Linked DNA regions of Homo sapiens: all the other regions are linked to region 4. The links are contacts of gene promoters, found by promoter capture Hi-C in blood cells and fetal thymus (Javierre and others, 2016). All regions are on one chromosome and are shown on one strand. Each heading gives the region's core, a stretch centred on a gene start or on the middle of the fragment in contact. The rest is flanking DNA. Distances are from core to core; before and after follow the strand shown.

Region 1 (5,753 bases), core at 1,915-4,414, 500 kb after region 4:
ATCTAACCTAACAGGTATTAGTCTGCAGTCCCTGCCTAGTGAGGTCTCTTGAGAACATCCTTTAACTGTGCTTCTCTCTGACTTGGGTGTCCTTTTTTAAGGTTCTCAGTTTATGTGTCCCATCTGAATCTAACACACCGACAGGGTTGATAGACACAGCAGTAAGTTAAATTAATCCATTACATCTAGGTCTCTTTTAAAGCTTGGTAACTGAGTTCTATTTTTATATCCTTACGATGAGCCAAGACTGTATATAGAGCAGACATCTGCCATCTATAGTGATGTGGAGTAGAAACCTCAACTATTAGAGATGCCACGGGCTACCAGAAGCACTGATCTGTTTACTCCCCTTTCTTTCACTGATTGACTGAGTGACCTTCATTGTCCCCTTGGCACTGCCTGGCCTGAATTAAGGATCTTCCTGCCATCCATACCTTGTAGGACTGTGATATGCAGTGCCAGGGTAGGATGCATTTGTGATTTAAGAGCAGCATGTCTCACCTCTGTCATCTTCTGGAAGTGTGGATGGTAAGGGAAGGGGTAAGCAGTGCCTTCCCGGCCATTCCAACAGGTCCCCTTCCTCCTTTACCTCCTATGCCAATGCCAATCAGCAATTTTCAGGGGCTTTTTAGTATAACCTCTGAAGGTTCCACAGCTGTTTTGAGTCCCAGTTCAGTGATCTTTCCTTTACTTGTATAGACAGTAAAATTTCCGTAAAACCAGTATGAGCCCCAATAAATTCTGAATTCAAAGTCACTGTGGTTTTTTTCTCTTGATGCTTATGAGAGGAGTCCAAGATGCAGTGTCAGCTGACTCTTGCCAAAGATCCAGTGCAAAAAAAGGCTGTTCAGACTTTAGGATGATGCTCAGATGTCCCGTTGTAAAGCCTTTAGATCTGTTCTCTCAGCCCAGTGTGGATGCAAGTATTGTTTAATCAAAATAGAATAGTTAGCACCCTCAACTCATAATTGGGATATTCTTTTATTGTTATATAGCCGGTTTATTTGTCTTTTGATGATATATTCTACTTCTGTGCATGTCATAACCCACCCTTAAAATACAAAAAAAAAATTTTTTTTTTTGAGACAGAGTCTCACTCTGTTGCCCAGGCTGCAGTGCAGTGATGCAGTGGTGGCTTACCGCACCCTCAACCTCCAAGGCTCAAGCAGTCCTCCCACCTCAGCCTCCCAAGCAGCTGACTACAGGCGTGTGCAACCACACCCAGCTTTTTTTTTTTTTTTTTTTTTTTTTTTGGTAGCAACAGGGTCTCGCTTTGTGGCCCAGGCTGGTCTCAAACTGCTAGGCTCAAGAAATCCTTCAGCCTCAGCCTCCCAAATTGCTAGGATTATAGGCATGAGCCACTGCACATTGCCTATAATAAGAATTTTGTAACCTCAACCAATGATGTGTCTTCTATTTGCATGAAGTGGCTGAAACACCCAGCTCTCCCTGAGCCATGACAGCCACAGTCCTGCTCCCTCCTGTTGTCCTTCCAGCAACATTGAAGGAACTCATCTCACAGACGATGATCTGCTGGGCCCAGGAGGACCAGATCCAGGATTCAGAGCTGGTCCGAATGATGTTCAACCTCCTCCGGAGGCAGTATGACAGCATTGGGGAGCTGCTGCAGGCGCTGCGGAAGACCTACACCATCAGCCACACCTCTGTAAGCGACACCATCAACCTGCTGGCTGCCCTGGGCCAAATCCGCTCCCTCCTCAGTGTCAGGATGGGCAAGGAAGAGGAGTTGCTCATGATCAATGGGCTGGGGTAGGTGATTCACGGTTACGTGCTGTTCTCTCTAGGAGCTTTAAGTGGGAAAACTGACTTACCTTGATATAGAGATATAGTGGAATCAAATCATATTAAATCTTTGTGTGAACTGATTCCAATTTCACTCCTCATGGAGTCATATCCTTTGCAACCTGAGAGACCCAACTACTCACAGTGAAAGGCATTGCTAAAAGTATGGAGGAGTCTTGGGGAAAAGCAGTTACTTGATTTTAATCTTTTGAAAATAGCCCCAGGGAGCCCATGAAAACATCTGGAGGAAGGGACGGTGTGTTCAACCCAAGACAGAAATGATCTGAGCACCTGAGCTTTTGACTCGAAATCTTCCGAAACTTCCCTCTGAAAAATTGCCACCTGATCTCTCCCTTTTCTCAGGACTAACCTAGAGTCGTTTTTGTTAGTTCATTGAGATAACTTTCCCCTTAACAGTAGCTCATGGCTCTCCCTTAGAAGCCATGTAGTCAAAAAAAATTCATAGCATTTTAGACATCAAAAGGGTTTCCTATAATCACGTAGGGTAGCACTTCTGTTTTGCAGATGAGAACACCAAGGCCCAAAAAGATTCACTAACCAGCCTACAGTTTTACTTTATTAGAATCAAGAACTAGACCTACAGACAACCTCCTACCTAACTTTTCATCCTACCACCCTTGAGCCAGCATACCAAAGGAGCATCACCAAGGTGCAGGAAAGGGACCTTCAGGATCCTTGGAGGGAAATGCACTCATTCGTCAAACTCATTTCCAAAGAGAAATCTTACATAAATGAAGCGACTTTTATGGGAAGACAATACAGTTAGATAATTATTCTCTCCCCAGCCTTCGTAGTAGACATAGCAGAAGTAAAAACTGGCAATTGGAGGTGGTGTTTCCTGCAACCCTCAAGAGAAGGGGAATGGGCAGCCAGAAAGTAACCACCCAGCAAGGGAGTACACAGCAAATTACCAGGCTGTTTCTGTATTTTGATTTGCATGCAGCTTTACTCTGTGAATTTATATTGGATGACTTAAAGATGTAATTGTTCTTACATCTTAATGTCGTGAGTTTTTAAAGACTATTGTCCAAAAGCTTCATTGATATCTAAAATTATTACAAGAAAAAATAAAACAAGGGATGTTTAATAGGTCATCAGAAAGAAATGTTTCAAAGAGAAAAAGCAAGTACTTAGAAATAGAGGAGCACAGAATATTTCAGTCAGCTAAAATGGCCCTCCACATATATTCCAGCTGAACTAGTGCTTTCTTATTATCTTTTCAGCCTGTTACTTTCATATTATTTTGCCCTCTCGTGTGTTTGTGTGTTCTCATCCCTGAATTTTCATAGCATATAAATAAGCAGGTGCTGAAGACTCTCTCTGATCCTTATCCTAGAGACATAATGAACAACAAGGTGTTTTACCAGCATCCCAACCTCATGAGAGTCCTGGGCATGCACGAGACGGTGATGGAGGTGATGGTGAACGTGTTGGGTACAGAGAAATCTCAGGTAATGCTAAAAGGAGAACCTAGCCAGAACTTGTCCCTTGAGGCAGGAGCACGAGGTGACTTGTTCAGAGCCACGTGGCTGGTGTCCCTTGCCTCAGTTTCTCTTCCAGGGAGAGGAAGGGATAGGCACAGTGCCAAGAAGGAGCCAAGCGATGGGATAATGCTGCTGGACGGAATCCCATTGTGTAAGAGCTCTTGAAGCTTGGAGACTTTCTTCATTAATCCCACTGGGCTATTCAGTTGCTAAGTTTACTTCCCGTATTCGGCAGCCCTGCTCTTTCCAAGATGGAATCACTCACTTCCACTTAGGAGCCTGGTGTGTTTTGTGCTGAGTCAGGAGAAGGCTGTTCTAAAGGAGAACAAGATCTCAATAGTGATCCTGGCAGTGTTTCCCCAGAAGTGTTGATGTTTCCTCTGTCAACCGAACTCCTGAAGAAGCCAGGTTTCCTTGCCAGCTCCCTCATAAGGAGCCCGCATCAGGGGGAGCTCCTGTTGCTAAGGGGAGAGTTGTGGGGATAGGACACAACTGGACATTTATCCCAGCTGGGCTGGGGACCTCCTCACGGTTAAACTGCTTCCACAGGCAGTAGATCGGGTATGGCTTCAAATGTTGGAAATTCCAGAGTGCCAGGGTCCTAGGAAGGGATGATTTCTGGTGCAGTTTCATCAGTGCTACTGGGGAGGGGGTGGGTGTGTAGAAGGAACAGAAGCCAGGGTCACGTTCCTCATGGGCTTCCTTCTGATCTCTTGGGAAAGTGAAATCTCTCCAGAAGATCCCTGAGCACATGTCTGGATGCCTCAGCGAGCAGATAGACTACAAGTTTCTGAACCTTATTGCTTAGAGCATCCTCTGTGATATTAAAGGAGGAAATCAAGGTTGTCTTAGGATCCCGAGCAAGGTTAACACTGGCACCATTTATTGAGCACTGTAGGATCAAAACTAAGATTTGGCCCAACCTAGAGATGCTGGTTACTTTGTTAAGTAGAAAAGCCAAGTACAATCAACAGTAATGTAAGATGGCATCTTCATGCTAGACTGCATGAATCAAATTACAAGTGCTATGGAATCCCATAGAAGAGCAATTATCAATGACAAAAGTAGTCAGGGAAGACTCAGAGAGCGATGCCTTTCAGACTTGCGTAACTGTAGAGGCCAGCCTTGACCCAGGGCACTTGGGCTTTGATATACTGGTGGGCCTTATGTGTCTACGATCACCTGTGTCTGTCTGTCTGTCTGTCTGTCTCTCTCTCTCTCTCTCCCCCCCTTTCTCTCTCTCCCCCCTCCTCACTCTCTCCTCTTTCTCTCCTCACTCTTTCCTCACTTTCTCTCCTCACTTTCTCTCCTCTCTGTCTCTCCTCTCTCTCTCATCTCACTCACTCTCTCTCCTCTCTCTCTCTCTCATCTCTCTCTGTCTCTGAATTCTGTCCACTCCCTTCCTACTTGGAAACAATAGCCTGGTAGAAGGTCATGCAATTTCACATGACTTCCGAGGATGATTGGGATTCTTGTTTGACATCTATTTCTCTTGGAGGAAAGATATTTCAGGAACTATAACTCCTATGAATAAGTCTTGAGAAAAAAAATGGAAGGAGAAAGTTCATTTTTCCAAGTGTTCACACTTTACCCACTTAAGACTCTGAGGTCAGAGTTTTCAGAAAGGCCTCATGATAGATTCTTTTGTCTGACACTTTCTACTTCTCCCTACAGATTGCATTTCCAAAGATGGTTGCTAGCTGCTGCCGTTTCCTTTGCTATTTCTGTCGAATTAGCCGGCAAAATCAGAAGGCCATGTTTGAGCATCTGAGTTATCTTCTGGAGAATAGCAGTGTTGGCCTAGGTGCGTAAGTCTTCTTGTAACTTCCACATCCAAACTCGAAGGTTACACTCCCCCTTTTGACCACTTAGGAAAATACAGGGAAAGGAGCCACATGCACGCTGTGATATTTGTAAATACTAGAAGAGACTCTGCCTGATTTAAAACAATTGAAGTAACGATGCCACAAGAACGTTCTCCAACAGAAGTAGAGATGTTGCTACCAGCCAAGATTGGTGACAGTTTAGTGTTGGCATAGTCGTACAGTTTTACCTCATCTCTCTTGGGACCAGTGGCCCATGGTTTACAAAATGCCCCTGGGATTGCAGGTATAGTCTGGGGGCACAGCTCTTCCCAGCCCACTCAACTGACCAGGGAGCAGTGCTGATGAGACCAAGGTCATGGATCGGATCTCGTCTTGGCAGGCTGGCTGCAGGCTGCATACCTGTCCATCAACCTCCCAGCAAGTGCTTTCCTTAGCGGGGAGGCAGACTGGCCAAGAGCAATCGTGGATAAACAGTGTAAATCCACCACTACCACTAGAAAAGCAAGTCACTGCATATGCCTTACTCACTGTTCTGGGTATAAACGAAATGAATGTGTGTAATACACAAATACTTGCACTTGAAAACTGAAGTTTCACGGGTTTTTATTTCTCAAATGCA
Region 2 (5,782 bases), core at 1,852-4,351, 280 kb before region 4:
TTTTAACTTCATCAAGAGAACCTTAAACAGAACAATGCCTTCTTCCTTCCTCAGTTACCCTTTTGGTCAAATTGTTTAGTCTAGGAGGAATTAACAAGTTGCTAGAAAAAGAAAGGGGAGTCTCTTGGGGTGGGGGAGGGGGGTGAGACACACTGTATCCAACAGCACAAATCTCAGCGCTGCTTTTCCCGGCAGCAGGGTCATCCTGCTGCATGCAACAGGTCACAGGAATGACGGTGTTGTGATTTAGCTGGCTGCACATTTAGATTTGGTTATTCTGAGCTGGGAGACAAGAAGACAGAAATTGCAGTTCTCCTTTTGGCCTAACAGAAAAATGTTAAGTATCCTTACTGCTCAGGTTTATCCAGCAGCTTCAGTTCTTCTTCTTTGGATGTCTCGTAATACTTTCTTATTTTAACCAGCTCATCCTCTTGGGCTCTCTGTATCAAAATAGAAAACAAAACCAAAAAAAAAAAAAAAAAAAAGGGAAGTGAGACTCTGGCTATGGCAGTGGGTCTCAAAGTCTCGAAGTGTGGTTCCTAGACTAGCAGCATCAACAACATCACCTGTCACTTGTCAGAAATGCAAATTATTGGCCCACCCTAGACACAAGAACTTGGGGTGTGGGTGGGGGTGGGGGGATGCAAGCCCACTGGGTGATTCTGATGCATGCTCAAGTTTGAGATTCAATGCAAATGGACCTAACAAGTACACGCAGCTGGACACAGAAGTACAGCTATTTGAGCTCTACTTTTGAATCCCCCATCTCTTCCTCTGTAAGGAGGCTGGGGGAATATTGTTCTTAGAATTTGTTTCCTTACTCTTAGAACAGCCCTAAATTATATGAACTCGCAGCTCTTTCATTTCTAGTCAACAACGTCCCTTTTTCCAAATTTCGTAAGCACTCATTGTCTGTACCACTTATTTTGGCATTGAGTCACTTACTTTCTCAATTTATCCAACTATTTCAGTTGAATGAAGCTTATCTCTACTGTGAGCTAACAAGCGGCAACCATGTGCTTAGTCCTGAGCTCATGGTAACAACACAAAGCATCTGGAAGGTACTGCCTTTGACAAAGTTCTTTAACATGAACCACTGTATCCTCATTTTACAGATTATTCCACTGAGGCTTGTACTAAGCAACTGTTAAAGAGCTTCAGACTTGGAACTCCCTCTTTCTGCCTCTATACCTTGCTGACCTCCAAGTATTCAAGTGCATAATTAGCTCCCAATGGCCTGGTATTTGTGTACTTTCTGGTTTATTAACGAAAGCTTTACTAGTGGAAACGTGAGAAGTTCCGACCCACTTGTACTAAGTAGCTCCTGATACATATAAAGATGTGAAAATGAGCAAGGAATTGGTGATGCCACCAAGCCTAGACTATTAGACTATGGAAATCTTCTGTAAGAAACTTAAGGTCCCAGGGGACATAAATATGAAACGAATCATCTTTTGAACTGGTGACCACAGTACACTATAGAGCCCTAGACAGCTTCCTGGGAAATACCATTACTTAAGAGAATGTGGTTCAATCTATGTTTTTGTAGCCTAACAGTCAGTGAACCAAAACAATGAACAATCATGGGAATTCTGACTCTCCTGTGTTGTCTTCTCAAGAGAGCCTGACAATTCTGCTGGTTATGTCCACTTAAAACCCAAATCAAAAACCTTATATGTGTACAGTCCTGTTGACTTTCAAAATACATTGCTACTGCTACATATATTAAATCCTCATTTGACTAAAAAAAAAAAATCAGAGCCTACTATAATCCCCGCTATACTGATGATCACAACGGGATTAAGAAGTTTAAGTAACTAGCCCAAGGTCACTTAGCAGGCAATGGTAGACACAGCTGGACCTCAAACCTAAGACTGTCTCATTCTAAATCCAAAACACATACCTACCATTCTACACACCTTCCCACATTCAATATCATCAACTCATTTGGACTAAGAGTAATCATCCAAGCTGGTATTAGCAGTCCCATTCTTCAGAAGTAGACACCAGTGCACGCTATCATTTCAGTAGGCAGCTTACCTTCATTCACTTGGCCAGCAAGTGACAGGACTGGGTTCCAGGGCACGTAAATGGTGTCCACCTGAGATGCCCTGCCTTGCAAGTGTGCAATGAGATCTGCTAGCCCAGATACCACAGTGGGAGTCAGGAATCTAGTGCTTCTCACATCCACTCCCATTCAAGCTTGTGTTTCTATGCCTTAATCTCTTCCAGGCCACGTCAAAACCCTTACTACCAAAGAACATGAACAGCTCAGTCATTTCTCAGGTAGAAGATAAATATGGAAATACTAGCTCTGTAAGTCTTTGACACTCACGTTTTCATATAAGGCTGCCAGGGTCTCCAGATCAACCACGGAGTCATCCACATTGAAAATGGCTGCCAAGCACCCAAAAAGAAAAGAGGATAAGGGATTTGATTAGGTCCCCTGCACCAATGTTTACTCCACATCCAGCTTCCAAGCAATTAACAGAGTATTGCGTTTTCTTACACAAGCTGTGCCTCTCTGCTCCCCTTCCTTTCGCACCAGGGGTCTCAAATGAAAGAAACCAAAATGGTTCCTATCATTGGCCTGAGCCTTGGCTCTGCCTTGTTTAATTCCTCAGGCTCTGAGTCCTTTCTGCAGTTTAATTTAGGCTCCACAGGAGAAGTGTTTGTGCTTTAAAACTAAATCAGTTTGTAGGTTTGAAGCACAATTTTAAATCTTTCTTCCCGATGGTAATTGAAGAGATTTAGTACCTAATGCACCAGAACTGACTCTTGCCCATTACCAGAAAGAAAGAGAGAAAAAAGACAATGTTGGCAAATTAAATGAATTCAGGCATGTGATTTCAGGCACCTTTCCGTGGCCACTGCCAACATCTTGTTTGGATTAAAAAGACAAGAAAAAACAATAATTGCATCAATAGCAAATTAAGATTATGGAAACCTCCCATGAGCCAGTCTTCAGGCAGGCTCTCATTCCCATGGCTTTATTAGGATTCTACTTGTTCTGTATTATTTAAGATTAATTTAGCCGTTAACTAATATGCTTATGATTTCATCTAGAGAGGTACCTTCCCATAGATACTGGGATGCAAAAATTGAGACTTAAAATCCTTAATGGATTTGGCTATCGAAGTGTTTGAAATAAGCAGGTCCACATCTTTAAATAATTATTCAAAACTAATAAGGTTTGTTCCCTCAACCCTACCTCCCTTCCCTGACTTTACATTGTGAAATTAACCAGCACGCTAGTAAATTTTCTCCGTGGCAGGCTAATTAATTTTATTAAACCAACCAGTGATACTTAGAATGCCTTAAAATTTTGCTCGTCAACTATTTATTCTGTTCATTTGCATTACACCATGGTTTTTGGGAAGGTGGGGACCAAGGTAAGGGGCAGGTTGTTTTTGAGGTATTTTGCTTCTTCTGTGGTTTAGAATCACATGAACCCTTTCATACAATTTTAACAAAGCTAAAATTAACTGAGCTAAGATCATGGAACCTCACAGAACAGCAAGAAATGTACTTAAAATTCCTTTGCAGGCCACCTTCTCAAACTTAGGGGTTAATCAGCAAGCTATTCCTAGATACATGGAACAGAGAGAAAAGAGGAGGTTAATATGCTAGAGTCAAAGTAAGTCACCTCAGATTCCACCAAGACAAAGGAACATCACACATCCACAAAGGCCAATGTGAAACCAGTAAAGAAAAATGCAGTTTAAGGACAGAAAGAAAGGATTTGTCCTCTCAAGACTGTTATTTTGTGTGTGGAGATCACATAAATCCACTAATTTGTCAGACACAACAGGCATTTTTAAATGTCTAGTGCGTTGAAAACCAAAATAGCCAGAAACAATGTCTATTTTATGTAAATCTCAGTATTCTCTCACAAAAATCAACCAACATGAGCGCATAAGAAAAGGTCAAATTCTAAACAATAATCTACCAAAAATGTTTACATGTTAACTAATCATGCATCCTGGGTAACTATATATTACAAGCTTAGATATAATCAAATAATCTTAACTAATGAGAAAGAGAATGACCTGTGAGTTTCTTTTCCTAGTAAGTAAATACTCAGTTTTTAAAAGTTAATCAGTCTGGGGCCCAGGCACACAGTTCCTCAGATGGTATTGTCAGCTGTGCCCCTTCCAGTGTGTTCAGTAGCAGAAAAATAACACCCAGAGAGGTTGGGACTGAGAACAACCATGGGCTCTGAAGACATGGATTCATTCATTCCTCCATCCAGCCCTTGAATAAGTATTTGTTGGATGTGTACAGGATCTGTTCTAAATACTGTGGATTTTTAAGTTAGAAGTGCAAAGTACTTAATTAATCTCATGAAATTTATATCCCAGTCTGGGGACAGAAAATAAACAAGTAAATACATAATTTCAGATAACAATTTACTATGAAGAAAGTAAAACAGAGAAATGTACAACATTAGACAGAAGGCTCAAGGAAGGCTTCTTTGGGAGGTGACATTTAAGAGAAGACCTGCAGAGATCAGTTTTGTGGCTATCTTGGAGAATAACGTCCCAGGGAGAGGTAACTGCAAAGACAAGTTTCTTTTTCTGAAGGAACACATTCAAGGTATAGAAAAAAAAAAATCAAGGTGACTATCATGGACAGAGCAAAATTTACTCATTGTGTGATCCTGACATGTTAAATTTTCTGAGCTTCAGCATATCTATAAAACAGCTCTAATACCACTTAGTGAAAATATTAAGTGAGGTAAGATATATGCTTAGCATAGCACGTAGAACATGGTATAAGCCCAAAATGGTATATATGAGCTATTACTATCATGATTTCAAATATATACATTGTAAATGTGTTTTAATGCTTGTTAATGCCTTATCCCCTTTAACATCTGGAAAGAGTTAGAGAAAGAAAACTACAACTACTGAGTGATTTGTGCTGTAAATGCAACCTTCCCGAATTCTTAGGTGTTTCTGATCGCGGTTACTAGGAAACCCTTCCAGTCCTTTAAAACCCCACTCAAGACCCAACTTCAGAAAGCATTATTAACAGGAAAGGTCTATGACACAGAACTCTAATTACAAAAAATAATGGATCAAGTGTCTTAAGGGAAATGCCAGGTACCTCCAAGTCTGTATTATCATATTTTTATCTATAATTTCAATATTTCTCATCAATCCATCCTTCATTGTACCAAGGTTACTTTTTAAAAACATGGATTTCAAAATTTTACTGTGATGCTTAACATACCTCCAATATCTTCCTTTAAACACTCGGCGAAGTCTAAACTCCTTGGCCTGGTTGTTAAGCTCATTCCCTGCCTCGCCTCAATTACACTTCCAAACTCATCTCCTACCATGTTCTCCATGCACCATGGGTTCCAGTCACCCTGTGTCCTTCCCCATTCCTGAACATGCCATGGCTTCCTCCCTTTCTTCATCTCTCCATGGCACAGAGGTCAAAGCCCTGGAAGGACATCCTTTGACCCTCACATCATTAAGTCCTCAATCTTTTCCTCTGCCATGGTACCTCTCTCATATTTTACATAAGGTGAAGATGGTATACTTTAAGAATCTGTGGTATGTTGCATAACTGTTTCCTTCTCCCAGTAGACTGTGAAAGCCTTGCAGTCAGCAGTTGATTTCTTAAGCATCTTGATAACTGTCTCCCAGCATGGTACCAGGGGTGTAGCATGTATAACATAGATGTTTGTGGGTATAATTATACCATACGACTCCTGAAGACTGAGTCCTGCTGATGGGAGGAAAAGCTTCTTGACAAAGAGAACATAGGGTCT
Region 3 (5,996 bases), core at 1,997-4,496, 490 kb before region 4:
TTTAGAGATCATTTTTTCCCGCCTTCCTGGTTGATAAAGTAAGAAATAGTGCTTGAAAGAAGATGAATAATCGCAGCACAGACGTAAACCAAACTCAAGCTTTATCATTAGGATTGACATAGGAACCATCCCCATGACATAGACCCCAAAAGTACAATGGTATGAATGAAAAAGGTGACAGCGGAGGCTGATCTTTATCATTTTTCACTATGCTTGGCTTTTTTGTTATTGTTGATTTTTGAGTTGGAATGTGAGCTTATTTATCCTCCACAGCTTTTGGAAGATTTCAGCCTGGCTCATCCTACGTTAGAGTGTCTGACAGGGGAATAACGCGTGGTATTTAGATGGCACCAGTTATCCAAGAAGGTCAAATTTCTTTGCAATTAGTCTGTCGTACTCCAGAAAGCCCTGAGAGATGAGACGTTGGGGTATGAGAGAGGGAGTTATCTTCATTTAACAGCAGATAGACTTAGGAAGCGGCAGGGGCCAATGAAAAAGCAGGAACGAGAATGGAAAATGTCCCAACACTATCTCCCTTCCCCCACCAACAACCCAGGAAAAATTTTCCAAATCACTTTCTACATATGCCTTGACTGTTGATTCATCAAAGATGTCTTCAATAGATTCACAACTCAAACCACATTGTGGTATTTAAGTAAAGGGGAGCATTGAAAATGTGAATATAGTATTTCTTCTATTTTTGCAAATGGATGTGTTTGATACCAAACACTGTCAGCAGCTAATACTATTACTATGTTTGCTAATATGCTCAGATCAGCTGGGCACACAACCAAAACCCATAACATTCCTGAGTGAAGTATGATCAGATGCTCCCAAATGCAATTTGCCTTCTTCCCTCGCATCGTAAGAGAAAAGGCTTTTGTTGGATATGTTTTGTGAACACCAAAGAGAGTAAATAGCTTTTTGAAGAAGCCAAAGTGTTTTCCTCCTGATTCATTGTGAATGCCTGCAAGAGTGTTTCCTTTTAAGTTAAAACAATTTACGAATTCTTCCTACTAAATCAATCTACATATTTTTATCACTGCTATTTTTAATAAGTAACTTTTCTTTCTGAAAATTTATTTCACTTTGCCCCAACCTTTCTGTGATTCTTGGGAGACAAGAAACAGAGTTCATGTAAAACACTCTTGTTTATGATGGATGAAACCACAAACTTTGTGTGATGTTAACCCACTCACAGAAGGAGAATCTGAACTTCAGAGTATTTTGTGTTTGGAGAGAAGGCTCACTAAGGGAAATGGGCTCACTTCAATTCAATATATTATAGGAAGGAAAGGATCAAGGAAGAGCTGGTCTTAAAACTGTCAAAATATAAGAATTTGATGGGAAGAAAGAAGGAAAACAGAGCAGTTGGAAATGCAAAGATAAAAGAACTGGATCCAGACATGTCTATGTAATTTCCCAGGAATGGAAATTGTACTGGCAATTTGGAAAGAGATATCGAAAAACAATATACATTAAATGTTGAGCTTTTCTTGCAGCAATGCACTTGGAAGGCTCTTAGAACACATGGCATAATGGTATTATGATTCATCTACATATGGCCTGATCCTTGGTGACTGATGAAAGGGGAAACCAAGTTTCATAAGGAATCAAACACAGAAGAGGAAGCTAAACACTTTTTTAGAGAAAAAAACTCTTTTAAGCTTCTAGGTCATCAGCAGAGTATTAACTAACGCAGCCTACTAAATTTGCATTGGGATAGATCACATATGTAATTTCCTTTAATTCTTCAATAACCCTGTGACATAGGCATCATTTTCTCTGTTTCCTGATAGCCCAAGAGTTGCCATCTCTAAAGTTGCTTAGGTAGTTGGTGGTTGAGCTTAGATGCAAACAGAATTCTTTCCACCACACCAGTGATTGTCAAACCTGGCTGCTTATCAGAATCATCTGGAGAGCTTTGTAAAAATACAGATTCTTGGCCCAGGAAATTCTGATTCAGTAGTCTAGAGCAAGCTCTGGGGATCAATTTTTTGTTTTGTTTTGTTTCTCCAGTGACTCTGATACACAGTGAATTTGGGGAAACATTGCACACAATTGCAACCAGAAATGGTGTGAGAATGGGTGAATACAAAAGCCCCGGAGGGAAGGTTGTAGAACACAGGGACTCCACTGCTCTACGAGAAGCCTGCTAAACTACACCCAGCCATAAATAGTCTCACAAAAATCTACCAGATCTGAAAAACATGCTTCGACTTCACCTGAATTTATTTCTAAGGCCCCAGACATTCCTAATCAGCCCATCTCCTCCCAGATGGCTCTGCAAACCATTCCTATCGTTTGGAATTATGTTTTCAGAAGCCTCACAACCATGATAAAATGCTGTTGCCATAAGCATTTTCCTATCTCCTCAAGATGAATTAGATGAGCTACTTAGTCCTTCATCAATAAATTGTAAAGGGAGAGGCATTTGGAACTATGGATGCCCTTCAAATGTACTTGGCTAGTTACTTGCCTCTGTTTCCAAAAAGATTAAAACGTAAAAGAAATAAGTGGCAAAACGTGCATCATTCCTGGCCACATACCCAAATATTCTTTCTCTTATCCAATATGACTTTTTCCTTTGCATGCTTTTTCACCAGGCTAAGAAAACTAAAATATCTTTCTACAACAAATCCTTAAGGTTTCCCAGAAACACAAAGTAATGGTGCATTATTTATTTCTTAGGAAATTTTACCATGTTATTTTTAGCAGAGTGCATGTTACCCTGACACAGGCCATAAAACTTACTCACTTCTTTGGGGTCTGAGGAATGTCATCTTGTGACTGGTTTTACAGGGAGAACTTATCGGGGTGCAGTTGCAGTTTCCAGAGTGAGTCAGTGCCATCATTGCCTCCGCTGTTATTCAGTGGGTGGGGCACCTGGAGCACAGGAATGTGCTCTCTGATTCCACGACAAAACTAAGGACTGAGGCTCCCCTAGGCTCAGTTGTAGATTTTGAGGCTCTTGAGTTTCAGTTCTCCAATGAGTTCCAGGTAAAATGCAGAAACCAGGCCAGGCACCAATGGCTCATGCCTGTAATCCCAGCACTTTGGGAGGCCAAGATGAGTGGATCTCTTGCCCCCAGGAGTTCGAGACCAGCCTGGGCAACATGGTGAGACCCCATCTCTACGAAAAATACAAAAATTAGTGTGTGCCTATAGTCCCAGCTACTTGGGAGGCTGAAGTGGGCGGGTCATTTGAGCCTAGGAGGTCAAGGGTACAGTGAGCTGTGATCTCACCACTGCACGCCAGCCTGCTGGGTGAGAGTAAGAGCCTGTCTCAAAAAAAAAAAAAAAAAAAAAATGAAGGAGGAGAAATCAGAAACAGAAGCAAGGCAAAAAGGGGGCTAGAGCAAGGGTTATAACAGGAAGGAAAATAAGAACAGCTGCACTTTTAATCTATTCATTCAACAAAGGTCTGGGAGCATCTATGTACTCCAAGTGCCATGTAGAGGCCGGGGATTCAGTGAGCCACACAAAGACGGTTCTTGCCCCCACAGAGCTTACAGGCACGCGGAGGAAACAGACAAAAACCAAGCAAATCTACAAATTGCATAATTTAAAAATTTGGTAAGAGCCAGGAAGAAAGGGCGTTAGTCAAAGGAAGGACATGGCTTAGTATATAAGTTAAGAAATGTCCAGGCTGGGCACAGTGGCTCACACCTGTAATCCAGCACTTTGAGAGGCCGAGGAGGGTGGATCCCAAGGTCAAGAGATTGAGACCATCTTGGCCCACATGGTGAAATCCCATCTCTACTAATAATACAAAAAAATTAGCCGGGTGTGGTGGCACACGCCTGTAATCCCAGCTACTCGGGAGGCTGAGGCAGGAGAATCACTTGAACCTGGGAGGTAGAGGTTACAGAGAGCTGAGGTTGCGCCACTGCACTCCAGCCTGGTGACAGAGCAAGACTCCATCTAAAAAACAAAACAAAACAAAACAAACAAAAAAGCAAAAAACAAAAAAGAAGAAGTGTCCAGTGGCTTTGGGTCAGCATCGGTGAAAGTGGGGAGAGCAATAAAGAAGCAATTGCAACCTTTTAGGTGAGAAATGACCGTGACCTGGACTTGGGGATGGGCCGCGAAGAGTCAGGATGGACTCAAGACAGCTACTGGACTGCCACTGGCCGCGACACTTTGGAGAAACTCTAGCAGTTAGTTCTTCCGACACAGTTCCTACAGGTGACGGGATAAAAATAGAAGACAGCAGGGGAAATGATGAGGAGACCTGGAGCACTTTAGTTACGATTCAACTCAGCCTGTGCTAGGGCCACAGGGACTCAAAGAGGAGGAAGGAGACACTTTCTCCATGCAAGGAGTCTACATTTCATTGAAGAAGATGTGTCCAGCATACATGTAACTACAATAAAGGAAAAATATGACAAGAATAATAGAAAAGGCAGAAGGCTCTGAGAAGGAGGCTTGAGGTCAGAGTAGGAATTCAACCAGAAGAGAGAAGGGTGGGAACTTCTGAGGGGAGGGAGGAGCAAGAGCAAACGTGTGAACATGGTGGTCTGTGGTATGTGCTCAGCTCCTGCTGGGCTCAAATGTTGCATGTGCACAGAGAACATTAGCTGGAGACCATCAGGCTGGCACTGAACACCAGGGGCAGGAGTGGATGCTTGCTACTCAGCTGTGCACTCCTCTCATGTTCTTTTCTACATGTGTGCAATTGAATGTCTGTGTTATATGTGCGTATTAAAAGCGAACTCTCACCTTGAAATTCTTCTTAGTGGCAAGATTCTTTTCTCTAGATTGACAGTGCAGAGCTCACATAGTAATCACTGCTGTTAAAATAGATATTTAGGACTATAGAGTTAAAGCTTAAATACCATTTAAGGGAAGCTGCTGTTATCTGAAATAATTTGTCTTTCTTATTGAAAAGAACCAATACCCTCCCTCCCTCTTTCCCTCCTTCCCTCCCTTCCTTCCCTTTTTTCTTTCTTCCTTCGTTGGAAGAGTGGAAACATAACGAGGGGTTCTGGCTAGTGTCCTGAGGTGTTGGCTAGGTAAACTTTCTGGAGTTGCTCGTGCCAAGAGACCAGCACATACATTTCTCTAGGGGAAGTACATCCTAATTATTCCACAGACATCCATGGATCACTCTGGCTAGCAGAGTAGCACTGCAAAAATCATTACGATTTTTTTTTTTCAGAAAGTTGTTCTACTTTGGCTTAATGTCCACATGACCAAGAATCACACTTTACAGTCTTTAAGGGCCTATCCCATGCTCAGCCACTTTCCTACAAAATCGTGGCGACGTGGAAAGGCAGATATGTGCACCTGGGAGCTTCTAAGATCCTGTCTGCTCTGGCTGATGCAGTGACCAGAGTCACCAGAAACCCTCTGCTCCATCTGGGAGACCCAAGAGAGATCATCTGGAAGCTGGTATCTGGGGACACACTGCTACATTGTCCAGTCCAAAGTCCATCAGCTTTGTTTTCTTTCTCTGTCACACGAACAAGTAAAACAGAGTGTAGAAACAAACACTGCAGGCAAGGTTACCTAGTCTCCTTGAAAAGGTTTCCTTCCTACTGGCTAACTTTCAACCTAAGGGAAAATGCAGCTCGATGCTCAACTGGTAGATTTTCTTTCACATTTTATTATACATGTGCATATAAAGGAATTTCTCTTACTATTGGTTTCTTCCTTCTCTGATCCTCTCTCCAAAGGCACCACATTTCTCCAGAGAGTGTGTCCCAAATGCCTCATGTCTACGGAGTTCTTTGCAAACATTAATAGACAAATGGTTAGTTTATATAAAGCACACATGTATTGCTCTGACATAAGCAGTGAGGAGCCCACAGTTTACATTTTTCATCTTTCTTTTAAAAAGGAATGAGAAATCGTATTCCAGATGATCCAACCTATTACGCTACGAAGGGAAGAGTGGAGAGGGAACCAAGATTGAAAAGAGATTTAAATTTGGACCCTTTGTGAGCCAAGTGCAAATTGGTGTACAAGTTCACATTGATCTTTAGAAGGGAAAG
Region 4 (6,404 bases), core at 3,200-5,699:
AACTCTAAAGAAGAGATTTTAGAGAACATGAGACAGTGCTACAGTCACCTGTGTGCTGCTCAAAAGATGGCATTCATTCAATTTCATTTGAATTTCATTTGTGCAAATATTAAGGTTTTGGAAACCATGAGGTTTCCCAAAATTACTATGGTGAGTGAATCACCAGGGAGGGCTTCTCCTAATAAGTAGACAGTTCTCTTTCTCTTTGAGAGGTCCATATTTTTCCTTATGTTTCACGGAGGACATCATTGGAGAAAGCACCTAGGCCTAGATGAATGTGGATAGATACTCACGTGGGGGAAAAATGGAAAAACAGGGCAACTATGGCTAAAGGAGTGTTTAACAACAAGCACTGCTGTCTGACGCATTTCTAGACTACTAGTCTTCAGATCGTATCATGTTCTCTGAGCTTCTTTAACAAAAACATGAACTAGAGCACTCATACTGGAAGGCCTGTGGCAGGGGTGTGAGTACTAGTATCCTGGCAGCAGCATCATAAAGGTGTCTCCTGCCCCACTTTTACAGCCTTGTCTATCCTCCCAGTCAGCATTCTGGCGGTCCCTGCTACTTCTCCATTAATGCCCAGATCCTGATGACAAACATGAACGTTAAAAAGTCCTGGCTGGCCGGACGTGGTAACTCACGCCTGTAATCCCAGCACTTTGGAAGGCCGAGGCAGGCAGATCACAAGGTCAGGAGATCAAGACCATCCTGGCTAACACGGTGAAACCCCATCTCTACTAAAAATACAAAAAATTAGCCAGGCGTGGTGGTGGGCACCTGTAGACCCAGCTATTCAGGAGGCTGAAGCAGGAGAATGGCGTGAACCCGGGAGGCGGAGCTTGCAGTGTGTTGAGACCGTGCCACTGCACTCCAGCCTGGGCAACAGAGCGAGACTCCATCTCAAAAAAAAAAAAAAAGTCCTGGCTACCTCCAAAATATTTTGCCCAATAGCCTGTCACGTGGAAGACCACAGTAAAAAAGCGTTTCATTTGAAAGGTGTTCATCATTAGCAGTGACCTATGACACTTTAGAAGGAAGAGATAGGCATAGTTCGAATAAGATGGAACATAAAACAAGTCAGTATCAAGTTAAGGAAATAGGAGGTGTGTTGGTTAAAGAAAAAAAAACTTAACTAGTAGTCTGCTTCCTAGAGAGATGCATTACAGAGATCATGGTCATTTCAGGCCAGTGGGGAGGTAAGGATGTCCACAAGGAGGACCAACTCTCTTCTCTCTCCCTCATCCTCAAACATGCACTAAGGCAGTATTTGCTGAAAGCGTAGATAAGCACAGAAATCCAGGTTACTCTGGGAGATTGTTTACTTTTAGCCAGGGAACTTGAGAAACATAAGTGAGAGGGAATGCTCCATTTCTCAGACCCTTGCTTTTATGCGCTGACAAGGTAAAGAGGTTTGTTTCCTTCTTTACATCTCCCCGCTTTAGTAATTACTATTTTGCAGAGCATGGGGTTGATGCTTTGTCAGCACTTCAGCACAGACACTAAATACAGAGATGCTTCAGTTCCTTCACAGTGCCAGCCTGTTGGTGCAAGCTTATATTTGCTGCAGGAGAATACAATTCCCATGGTTTAGCGTCTCTGCAAGATCAGGCAAATCAGATTAACAGCTGTAATTCTGTCAACACAGGCTGGGACCTGTTGAGAATTAAGCTGATATTTAAGACAGAGACTATGTACATCTAAAAATAATAGCTACTCTTAAAACCAGGTCCCAAAAAGAGATTATGAATAGCCCCTAAACGTGGTCATACTACCAACCAGTAGCATCACTGCAAGATATGAAATATCCATTATGAACTTTTACACTGATACGAATAAAGTTTTAATAAGAAAACCATTAAAGGCAAGATCATCTAAAGCACACCACAGCTTGGGATGGTGTGCATGAATCCAAAACTTTAACGTAAAACTAGACTTTGAGGCATGGTATATGAGATAGGAGAGAAGCATTTCTCAATTTTCTATCAAGGATATTTACCATCATCACATCAAGTTCCAGTCTGTCCCCATTCCTCTTCCTCTGGGAACAGCTCCACCAATTTTATGTCTGGAAAGGGAGGATGACCAGGATATGAGACCTACCCTTAGACAATCATAGGTCCTATGGGACCCCATTCCCTTGGCCAAAGCATTTGGTCTAGGCAGGGTTAAGCCTGTGACAAAGGCTTCATCAATCACAGTCAATGCATTGAACACTCAGTGAGAAAGAAGCAGTCTAGAATAGGGCCAGAGGCCTGGAAATCTTCTCTAAAGCTGCATCTTTAACGTATCTCAACTAAGAATCGGCTAAGTACTTGTGAAGGCTGGTGAGAGAAATGCCTGTCCAAACACAGGTGGCTTCAATAGTGGCACCCCTCTAAGATGTAGTGCTATAAGGAACCTGAAGACTACCATACCCCATTTGCATCAGCTCTGACACCTAAAAAGGATAAAGACAATGGAAAAAAATGCATAATTTTTAGGAACGAGACTGGCCTTTATTATCCTTCTTGACTAGTATTATTAATAGCAGTTACTATAAATTCCCCACTTATGTGCCAGAAACTACTGAGTATTTTACCTATATTATCTCGTTTAATCCTCACACCTTCTCCTAAGAGACAGGTAGTATTATCCCTATTTTACAGACGAGAAATTAAAATTAAAGAGGCAAGCAACTTGCAAAAATCACTGAGCTAGTCAGTGGCTGGTCCAGGATTTGAACCTATGTCTGACAGGTTTATGAGTTTAGCCATTACAATATACTGTCTCACTACTCTTCTCCATTGTTTCCCTCCATTGAGGCCATTGCTTCTTTGTTCCTGCAATATGTCTAACTATTCATTGGTCCTGCTCCTGGACTGTAACACAGTTGAGAGAAAGGAGACTAGTGTTTAGATATCTGATCAAGAAGACCCGAGACCTCATTGATTCATTGTGGAAGCAACATCTTCCACAACGACAGTTAATCTGGTATGCAATTCTCAGCTATACTGTTTTCCCTCCCAAAAAAGGGTTAATAAGTCTGTGATCCAAGAGATTTGCAGTAAGCCCTAGAAACAGCTAAGCAACGGCTGTTGAATCCCATTGGTGTGCCTATAAGATGCTACCTGGTGTAGAGAACAGAATATAATTCTCTCTCCTAGGAATTTAGATGCGCCCCTCCGCCCCCCTGCCAATACACACGCAAGGGGGCATAGCAGATGATGGCACATGTCCCATATGCAAACATGAATAGTAAACATGCTTTAGTACAGCTGGAGCTACTGTAGCAGAAAGTCAGGTTGTCTGCTACTCCACCTGGTCTTCTTAAAGGATTGGGTCTGGACATTCACCTCTCAGTGACTGCCACTCCCCATATATATCACAGGTTCAGGCTCTGCATTCAGCCCATTCGGAGTGTGTGAGTGCTAACATGGAACTCTCCAGGAGACAGCAAGCAGAAATGTGGATGATTAAAATAAAGGGTTTTCTTTGGCAATCTCAATTGCAAATGAGGATAAGGAAAATCCTCCCAGCTCACACTCTGCTCCCAGCTACTTGTTCTTGAGTTAAATGAGGGCTTGGCTCTGGCCTCAGGGGGCAAGAGCACTGTTCGTTATTTGGTGGTGGGGGAGGGGGTTGGGGGATCCGTCAGCACTTACATGCCTTTAGAGAATCTGCCTTTACAGAACTTGAAGAGCTCTGATGGAGGAACAGAGATGCTGTGGTGGTAGTGGCCTTGGAGGTGGTGGTAGTGGCAATGGTGATGATGATGATGATGAAAGAAGAAGAAAACGGTGATGGTAAATGTCATCTATAAACACAAGCAAAAAGCAGCAACAGATACCTTTCTAGTCATTGCCAACCATAGTCATGAAGCTGCTTCTGTTCCCAATGCAATCCCATTGTGGTGCTCCCCCTCTGCGCTAAACACATCCAGCTTCAAAAAAAAAAAAAAAAAAAAAAAAAAGCTCTGCATCTCTCCGTCCCCCGCCCTCCCGCCCTCCCGCCCTCCACCTTTCCTGTGCCAAGCTGGGAATGAGACTGCACTGGCGGGTCAAGGGGGCTGGGACCTGAGAGTCAACGACAGGAGTTCTGTAGTGAGGAGCGTTGGGATGACCCGGAGGGCCCACCAACGTACTTGGGAGCAGCTTGGTGGGGGAGCTGGAGGAACCGACACAGAAGGGGAGGAAGATAAGCTGGCGGGGTAAATAGACTTGATGCCTCATTCCAAGAACCCTGAAAGCCACGGGGGAAGGCGGAGCAGGCAGCCTTTGGTCGGGAAGAAGAGACGGGCAGATGGCCAGCAGAACAGACAAGACTCTCTTTACCTGACCAATACTCGGGAGGCTGGTCCCGAGTCCCAGCTACTCGGGAGGCTGAGGCAGGAGGATTGCTTACGGCAACAGCCGTGGCGGCTGCAGCCTCGAAGGATGCTGCGCTCCAGTCCAGAGCCAAAGCCCAAAGGGGCAGCTGCGCCGACCTCCACCGAGGCTCCGCCCCACAGGCCACAGGCCCCGCCTTCCTAGCACGCGCCGGCCTGACGAGCTGTTTGGGGGAGGTGAGCAGTAAACTGATCGGCAGGGCTGAAGACCAGTGGAAACGTGCAGCGGCGCCCGAGGTGGCAGGGGAGGCGGGGCGGGAGGCGGCGGTGCCCAATCAGCAGCCGAGCCGTTGGGCCAGGCTGGGAAGCAGTGCTGTCTTTTGGCACCGTCTGATCCGGGCTGAGGGATTGAAGGCGGTGGTCGCTAAGCTAGGTCTAAGACGGACAGCCAGGGCGACAACCAGTCTCTCGCTACGTGTCCCCAGCTTCCCTGTTTCCGAGCGCCTCTCAAGGCGCACGCTCTGGACTTGTTCAGATGGGGGAAGGGAACTGGTCTGGAACTCCCCACTATTCCCGAGGTTCCCACGCCTCCAGATCCGGAGAGGCCGTTTCGCTCCAGTGGCCTGGCCCCCCTGCCCCCTCAGCCTAGCCGTTCTTGATCGTAAGTGCTAAAAGGAACAAAGAAGGAGAATTCAAGAATCCACACATAAGCCCAAACCCTGACAGGAGCCTTTTCCTCTCCCATCTCCTGCCTACGCTTCCTCCTAGTAGCTTTTTAACTGCTGGCGGTTAAGTTACTTTGACTGGTTTGAATTAAACGCAAAATAGGTTTAGGCTGAGAAATGGGCCAGACCCTTGGCGATCTGAGAAAGAAAGACTGAGTCCGGATGTCAAGAGGCCTGGGCCTCACGAGGGAGTTTGTCTGCTTATTTGAACACCTCAGAGTTGAAGATCTTGTTACTGCTATTTCTGTGCTGGTGAATCAGTACAGACCTTGATGCCAAGGTACTGTTTTGTCCCCAAGTGTCTAATCATTACTGAAATGAACTACCTTCAAACCTTTCCTAAGAGGATTTGAGGCCTTAATGTCGTTGAGATTTGGAATGTGATTTGAGTGACACTGAGATCTTTTCCAAGTAGGTAGGCAAGAAAAGGCATTGTCTTTAATCTGCTTTTGGATAAATGCGAACTGTATCACCCATTTGGTACTTGAAGATAGAATTTTGTCCTGAATAGATTCTGTTTTCAAATAAGTAAATGGGAAAAAAATTTGGAAGGTATTTTTAAGGTGATTTTTTTCACTATTTTTTTTCTAGAAATAATAGTTTATTGGAACTCTGATTTATTCTTAATCACAATATTAGCCAAACACTGATAGGCCCTTTATTTATTTGTTTTTTTAACACACGGTCTCACTCTGTCACCCAGGCTGGGGTGCAGTGGTGCGATCTTGGCTCACTGCAGCCTCAACCCCGTGGGCTAAAGCCATCCTCCCAACTCAGCCTCCAAAGTACCTGGGACTACAGGCGGGCACCACCATGTCCAGCTAATTTTTTAATTTTTTATTTGTAGGGACAGGGTTTCACCATATTGCCCAAGCTGGTCTCAAACTCCTAAGCTCAAGCGATCTTCCCTTCTCAGCCTCCCAAAATGCCGAGATTACAGTTGTGAAGTGCTGTGCCCGGCTCCATAGGCACTTCATATACATTATCTCCTTCAATCCTCATATCTTCCCCTTGTAAATTCCACTTATAGATAAGAAAACTGAGGTTCCCAAAGTTCAAGTAATTGTCCTTGGGTCATGTTCGTAGTTAGGAGTAGAGTCAATACGAGGTCCGTATATCTCCTGTCTAAAAATCATCATCATCAGTTAGAAGAATAAGAAGCCCTCAGTACGACTCTTAATTCCTTGATGCTTTTTTCTTTTTACCTGAAAATTGTCATATAGGGATCCAGTTTTCACACTACTGACTTCTTGAAACCGCAGCCTCAGAAGCACCTTTAAGAGTGAAGTGTCACCTCTGACATGTGTTAGGAGCAATTGCAAGTCAACTTTGCTCATAGAAGGGAGCTGTGATTTCCTATTGTTGGGAAGGAA

What was found. Contacts are between HindIII fragments. The CHiCAGO score rates a contact against its expected background, and 5 or more counts as called.
Region 1: a fragment that was not itself captured here is called in contact with the fragment with the promoter of FMN1 in region 4 in 3 of 17 cell types (endothelial precursors, erythroblasts and activated CD4 T cells); the score reaches 9.5 in endothelial precursors.
Region 2: a fragment that was not itself captured here is called in contact with the fragment with the promoter of FMN1 in region 4 in 1 of 17 cell types (monocytes); the score reaches 7.0 in monocytes.
Region 3: a contact is called between a fragment that was not itself captured here and the fragment with the promoter of FMN1 in region 4, in 2 of 17 cell types (M0 macrophages and M1 macrophages). The highest score is 6.6, in M0 macrophages.

What each region holds. Positions count from the first base shown.
Region 1 is chr15:33,694,722-33,700,474 of GRCh38, forward strand. It overlaps RYR3 (ryanodine receptor 3), which reads left to right. Exons shown (of 104, transcript NM_001036.6): 39 at 1,497-1,770; 40 at 3,161-3,275; 41 at 4,983-5,112. Among named protein-coding and RNA genes, the nearest start is that of CHRM5, 270 kb to the right of the region's middle. The HindIII fragment of the contact is 617 bases long and covers 2,857-3,473 here.
Region 2 is chr15:32,908,139-32,913,920 of GRCh38, forward strand. FMN1 (formin 1) reads right to left here. Exons shown (of 21, transcript NM_001277313.2): 11 at 2,336-2,397; 12 at 352-440. Among named protein-coding and RNA genes, the nearest start is that of GREM1-AS1, 190 kb to the left of the region's middle. The HindIII fragment of the contact is 1,802 bases long and covers 2,201-4,002 here.
Region 3 is chr15:32,704,085-32,710,080 of GRCh38, forward strand. No RefSeq gene overlaps it. Among named protein-coding and RNA genes, the nearest start is that of GREM1, 11 kb to the right of the region's middle. The HindIII fragment of the contact is 3,162 bases long and covers 1,666-4,827 here.
Region 4 is chr15:33,190,265-33,196,668 of GRCh38, forward strand. It overlaps FMN1 (formin 1), which reads right to left and starts at 4,450. Exons shown (of 21, transcript NM_001277313.2): 1 at 4,314-4,450; 2 at 3,645-3,796. It overlaps LOC105370759 (a long non-coding RNA gene), which reads left to right and starts at 4,647. Exons shown (of 3, transcript XR_932090.3): 1 at 4,647-5,311. RefSeq lists silencers at 4,429-4,768, 4,543-4,752. The HindIII fragment of the contact is 5,074 bases long and covers 1,553-6,404 here.